Linked DNA regions of Homo sapiens: region 2 is linked to region 1. The links are contacts of gene promoters, found by promoter capture Hi-C in human tissues and cell types (Jung and others, 2019). All regions are on one chromosome and are shown on one strand. Each heading gives the region's core, a stretch centred on a gene start or on the middle of the fragment in contact. The rest is flanking DNA. Distances are from core to core; before and after follow the strand shown. Region 1 holds the start of DDIT4L (DNA damage inducible transcript 4 like). Region 2 has its middle 46 kb from the start of EMCN.

Region 1 (3,255 bases), core at 550-3,049:
GAATTTTTACTATTATGTTTGAAGAGTTGTATTAAAGCTTTAAGAGTTATATTAAAGATCTATCAAATTTGTGTCTTTAAGTCTTTACTGGAGTGGCCTGTAGGTCCCAATTTTAGCTTTAGCCTCTTTAATTAAAAATTGTGCAGAGAAGACCTTTGAGGTTCATGAGGATATTTGTAACCGGCTGGGTGGTTTTTCTTAGCCAAGCAAAACAAAATAGTCCTAGGGAAATAAAATTAGCTGGGCTCAAAGGAAAAGAGATAGCTCTGCATTTGGTCACCTACACCTCAAATTAATCCTACCCCTTGGCAGGATGCCACACCACACGGAGTCAAATGAACAAGGTGCAGGCAGATGCCCTCCCAGCTCCTCTCTCTAAGCCTACTCCACCTTCATCAGCCACTGGCTTTTCCTCTCCACTTCGTGTAAGTTTGGAGTTCTGGCCTGTAAATTAGGTCATCAACCACTTCACCTTGAAAGGAGAAAAACACGAAGAGCTTAAGCAGTTTATCTATGCTCTTACAGCTCTTTAGTGTCAGAGCAGTGTGTTCACCTAGAAACTGCTGTTAAAATTCCAAATGACAGCAAGTCAAGCACCGCTGCTGTTCAACAGTTTCCTTCTCACATTAAAAATGGAATAATGGATATATCCACGACTGAAAATCCTACTCAGTAATAAACAATAAACACGAACACACTGATTTAAGCAACGGACATAAAAGAATCTCAAAAACATTAGGCTGCGGGAAAGAAACCAGACACAAAAGAATACCTACTGTATGGTTCCACTTACCTAAAGGCAAAACTAACTTGGAATGATAAAAATCAGATCAGTAGTTCCCTGGAGTCAGGGGAGAGTGAGGAATACCTGGCAAATAGGTGCGTCGGAATTCAGGGGGAGGGGCGATATTGATTACAGGGTAAATACATTTGCTAAAACACACATAACTGTGTTCTTCACAATCATGTAAGATAAGGAACTTAATCCCAAGGGGCCTACTGGCACCAGACTAGAAAGATGCAGCCCTCGGGTATTCTACTTTTGCTACTTTTGTTTCTATCATGGAGAGAAGATGTTAGAAAATTTGGAAAGGAGTCTCCTCAGATGGATTTTGTGGCACCTCCTACATAGAGGTAGGGGAGGAAGTCGAAAGCCCGCCCACCCAATAGATCCAGAGGCACCGACCTTGGGAGGGGAGAAGGGTGGACAGCGGGGACACTCACCACTTAGCAGGCTCTCTGGGTGATAGCCACAGTCCAGCAATTCTGAAATGCTGGCCGGGTTCTTGCTGCTCAAACTGCCAGTTGCAACCATGGTCAACGGCTCTGTTTCCTTCGCGAGGCGCAACGGCCTTTCCTGAGCGCTGGAAAAAATGAGGCGAGAAGAGACGGATTTGCAAAAGCAGGCGAGTCGTGCAGAGGCTCCTAAAATGCCCGGCGTCCCGGGAGCGAACTAGCGGAGGAACTCCTTTGCCAAAGGGGTGGAACCGGCCTCTGCAACTCAATTTGACAAAGCCCTGGGAGCGGAGCCGCAACCTGAAACTAACTCAACAGTTCGCAAAACTTGGAAGCGACCTGCCCCGCGGAGCGCCCCCCGGCCCCGCTGCCCCCACCAAGGCCGCAGCTTCGCTCACCTGCCAGGAGTTCGCGGGGGCCTGCGCGCTCGCTGCCGGGTAAACACAGGCAGGTGGCTTCTTAGGAGTCCCCTCTCCTGGGGACTCGGTGACCTGCAGACCCCAGCAGCCAGCGGCACCCTGCTCACCCCTCCCGGGCCACCCTGCGCCGGCTCCTCGCAGTAGCATAGCCTCCGGGGCAGCGAGAACTTTATAGGTCCAGTCCCCACCCTGCTCAGGCCCGCCCACCTGCACCGCCCCTCCCCGGCCAGCGCCCCGCCCCTCCCCTCCAGAGTCTGGTCCCCTTTCAACCTCTACACTTCCAGGGAGCCCGAGCCTAGCCACAGGGAGTTGAGGATAAGCCTGTGGTAGAGCGGACACCTGTTGCTTCCAGGGTAGATCTCGGGCCACTGGGACCGCAATTCCGGGTGCACGACTCGTCAAAGCCTGAACCTGATTGTTCAGTGCGACCCCTCCCCGAGCGTCCGCGCTTTCACACTCAGGCTGCTCCCGGCAGCGGGAAGCTTTAAGCGATCTGTGCATTTCCTTGTCCTGGGGCTTTGCTGTGTCATCCTGAACACTTGGCTTAAATCTGTTGCAACGTCCACTGAGCATCATTTATGCACTTATTTCTGGCCTCTAACCCAGTCAACTCTACTCTGCCTCCCAGGGTTTCTGTATCCTCCTCTGCTGCAAGCGGTCAGATCTAGTTTTCCTTTCCCGCATCGAAGGCTCGCCAGCATTTTAAGAAGGGCCTTAATGACCCCACGCACTCCGTGGCTCCCTGGCATTCTTCGTGCACTTACATCTGTGGCTAATGCGTTTTCTTCGCAGGAAGGGTGAGCCTGGCACTCTTCTAATTAGACCTTGCCCCAGAGCGCGGGGAGCTTGAATTGAGCGGGAGTTTGCCAAGAAACACACAATACCATTAGTAGGATCTTAGGTACTCCTCTATCCGTGCATCGAGAGCAACTGTCATTTCCGGAGGCAGAAGTTTCTGGCGAGCCCTGTTGGGAGGATCTTTGGTTTGGGATATTTTGAAGAGGTTTCAGAGACTGAAGATAAAGAGTTTTATATTCTGCTGGGGATCAGCAGATAATCCCTGTGAGGGCTCCGTGCGGTCCTGCACAGGAACACACAGAGAGGCAGAGGAGCCCTGGAAAGAGGCAACATGCCCGCATAGCCCATGAGCAAGAAGCCAAACCTGATTTTTTTCTTCCAAAGTTATTAAGCCACGGTTTTCTCGCTTTGGTGTGCCAGTAGGAGATGATCTGTTCAGAGAGTCAGCTTGGGGTGCGTTAGGGGATGCCTGGAGGGAGAAGGTTGTTCCTACAGTAGAGATCCCAGTGTTGGCTCCCAGGCCCTCTAGGATTATGTGTAGAAGGATTTGCAGGTTAGAACCTTGAAAGGCAGTTTCAGCTGTCCTGGCATAAAACTCTTAGAAAAACAACAACAGAAGGGGTATAGAGGGTGTGATAAACAGATCAGTGGGAGGACATTCGGACGCAGAGCAGCAGAAATTAAAGCCAGCTTGACAGTCCATTTTTAACTCAGTTCAGGCAGCTGCACTGCCTGAAGGTCAGGCGAGCCAAGGAAGGAGATGCTGATAGACTGGTCTTTGAAGGCCAGTTTCCACTTCTAC
Region 2 (3,135 bases), core at 616-3,115, 370 kb after region 1:
GATGCAGGGATAGTTTAACATATGCAAGTCAATAAATGTGATACACCACATAAACAGAATTAAAAACAAAATCACATGATCATCTCAATAGATGCAGAAAAAGCATCTGACAAAATCCAGCATCGCTTTATGATTAAAACTCTCAGCAAAAATCGGCATACAAGGGATATACCTTAATGTAATAAAAGCCATCTATGACAAACCCACAGCCAATGTAATACTGAATAGGGAAAAGTTGAAAGCATTCCCTCTAAGAACCGGAACAAGACAAGGATGCCCACTCTTACCACTCCTCTTCGACATAGACTGGAAGTCCTAGCCAAAGCAATCAAAAAGGAGAAAGAAATAAAGGGCATCTAAATCGGTAAGGAGGAAGTCAAACTATCACTGTTTGCTAACAATATGATTGTTTACCTTGAAAACCCTAAGGACTCCTCCAGAAAGCTCCTAGAACTGATAAAAGAATTCAGCAAAGTTTCCAGATTAATGTACACAAATCAGTAGTTCTTCTATACACCAGCAGCGACTAAACAAAGAATCAAATCAAGAACTCAACTCCTTTTACAATAGCTGCAAAAATAAAAATAAAAATAAAAATACTTAGGAATATACCTAACAAAGGAGTTGAAAGACCTCTGCAAGGAAAAGTAGAAAACACTGCTGAAAGAAATCATAGACAACACAAACAAATGGAAACACATCCCATGCTCATGGATGGGTAGAATCAATATTGTAAAAATAACCAACTGCCAAAAGCAATCTATAAATTCAACACAATCCCCATCAGAATACCATCACCATTCTTCATGGAATTAGAAAAAACAATTCTAAAATTCATATGAAACCAAAAAAAAGCCCACATAGCCAAATCAAGAACAAATCTGGAGGCATCACACGACCTAATTTCAAACTATACTATAAGGCCATAGTCACTGAAACAGCATGTTACTGGTATAAAAGTAGGCATGCAGACAATGGAACAAAATAGGGAACCCAGAAATAAACCCTAATACTTATAGCCAATGAATCTTCAACAAAGCAAACAAAAACATAAAATGGGGAGTGGACACCCTTTTCAACAAAAGGTGAATTGGCTAACCACATGTAGGAGAATGAACTGGATCCCCATCTCTCACCTTATACAAAAATAAACTCAAGATGGATTAAGGACTTAAACCTAAGACCTGAAACTATAAAAATTCTAGAAGATAACATTGGAAAAACCATTCTAGACATTGGCTTAGGCAAGAATTTCATGACCAAGAACCCAAAACCAAATGCAATTAAAAAAAATAAATAAATAGCTGGGATGTAAACTAAAGAGCTTTTGCATGGCAAAATGAACAGTCAGCAGAGTAAACAGACAACCCACAGAGTGGGAGAAAATCTTCACAATCTATACTTCTGACAAATGACTAATATCCAGAATCTCTACAATGAACTCAAACAAATCAGTAAGATAAAAAGACATAATCCTGTAAAAAAGTGGGCTAAGGACATGAATAGACAATTTTTAAAAGAAGATATACAAGTGGCCAACAAACATATGAAAAAATGCTCAACATCACTAATGACCAGGAAATGCAAATCAAATCAACAATGTGATACCACCTTACTCCTGCAAGAATGGCCATAATCAAAAAAATCAAAAACAGTACACATTGTCTTGGACACGGTGATCAGGGAACACTTCTACACTGCTGGTGGGAATGTGAACTAGTACAGCCACTATGGAAAACAGTGTGGAGATTCCTTAAAGAACTAAAAGTAGAACTACAGTTAGATCCAGCAACCTCACTACTGGGTATCTACCCAGAGGAAAATAAGTCATTATTCGAAAAAGATACTTGCACATGCATGTATATAGCAGCACAATTCACAATTGCAGAATCGTGGAACCAACCCAAATGCCCATCAATCAACGAGTAGATAAAGAAACTCTGAGTATATATGGTAGAATACTACACAGCCATAAAAAGGAATGAATTAACAGCATTTGCAGTGACCTGGATGAGATTGGAGAACATTATTCTAAGTGAAATAAGTCAGGAATGGAAAACCAAACATCATATGTTCTTACTGATATGTGGGAACTAACCTATGAGGACGCAAAGGCATAAGAATGATACAATGGACTTTGGGGACTCGGAGGAAAGAGTGGGAGGGGGGCAAGGGATAAAAGACTATAAATATGGTGCAGTGTATACATGGATGATGGGTGCACCAAAATCTCTATCAGCACTAAAGAACTTACTCATGTAACCAAATACCACCTGTACCCCAATAACTTATGGAAAAATAAAAAAATAAAAGATTTCTGAGCTAAGATTTTTAAAAATACCTTCTATTTGAAAGGGAAAAGAAGAAGAAATGATACATACGATGGATTATGTGGATGGTAGCAAAAAATACAGAAAGTGAGAGAACTACTTAGCTCACAAAATAGTAGTTTATGGTAGTAGAAATATGGGATTCTGCTGTAGCAGAGACTGCCCAGTATTTTCATTAATATCCAGGTTTTATTTGTCTTGGCACACTGCTAAATTACAACAGACCCCCCTTTCATTTGGGACCTTGTGATGCATTCTCTCCAATGGAATATGAGAATTAATATGTGTCTGGGCTGATATGATTAAAAGCAGAGCTTCGAAAGCTCTTTCTTTTCACTTGTCTATTGACCTGGCATATTCACCTGTCTATTGACCTCAACTGGATGATCCAGTTGAGGACTCCAAGGCCCTTAGGAATGGAGAGTCCTCTTGATCCAAGTAGCCTGGATCCCTGAATGATTGCAGGAAATAGAGATCTCTGTCTGCTGACTTTGTGCTATGAAAAGAAAATAAACTTTTATCATGTTTAGCCACTGATATTGTTACTACAGTCTGTCTACTCTGACGTGTCTTCCAGTAGATGGTGTATGCTTTATTCTTACAACAGCAACAACAAAAACACCTAAGCTAATCACTGTTTTAAGCTGAATTTTTAATTCCAGAAAGATAATGCACTGAAAAAAACTGGGTCCAGTGAGTTATAAGAAGTATGGCAGAACAGTGTTAAAAATGGTCCCCACTAATTTTCAGGATAAAATAATAGTAAGAAAAACCATGAGTAACATTTGTTTTATGAGATGTTTGT

What was found. Contacts are between HindIII fragments. The study calls those that stand out against the background at their distance.
Region 2: a fragment that was not itself captured here is called in contact with the fragment with the promoter of DDIT4L in region 1 in 1 of the 25 tissues and cell types used here (hippocampus).

What each region holds. Positions count from the first base shown.
Region 1 is chr4:100,188,669-100,191,923 of GRCh38, forward strand. DDIT4L (DNA damage inducible transcript 4 like) reads right to left here and starts at 1,800. Exons shown (of 3, transcript NM_145244.4): 1 at 1,635-1,800; 2 at 1,225-1,364. The coding sequence starts at 1,315. DDIT4L-AS1 (DDIT4L antisense RNA 1) reads left to right here and starts at 1,365. Exons shown (of 5, transcript NR_125924.1): 1 at 1,365-1,406. The HindIII fragment of the contact is 5,141 bases long and covers 1-3,255 here.
Region 2 is chr4:100,562,075-100,565,209 of GRCh38, forward strand. No RefSeq gene overlaps it. Among named protein-coding and RNA genes, the nearest start is that of EMCN, 46 kb to the left of the region's middle. The HindIII fragment of the contact is 4,523 bases long and covers 1-3,135 here.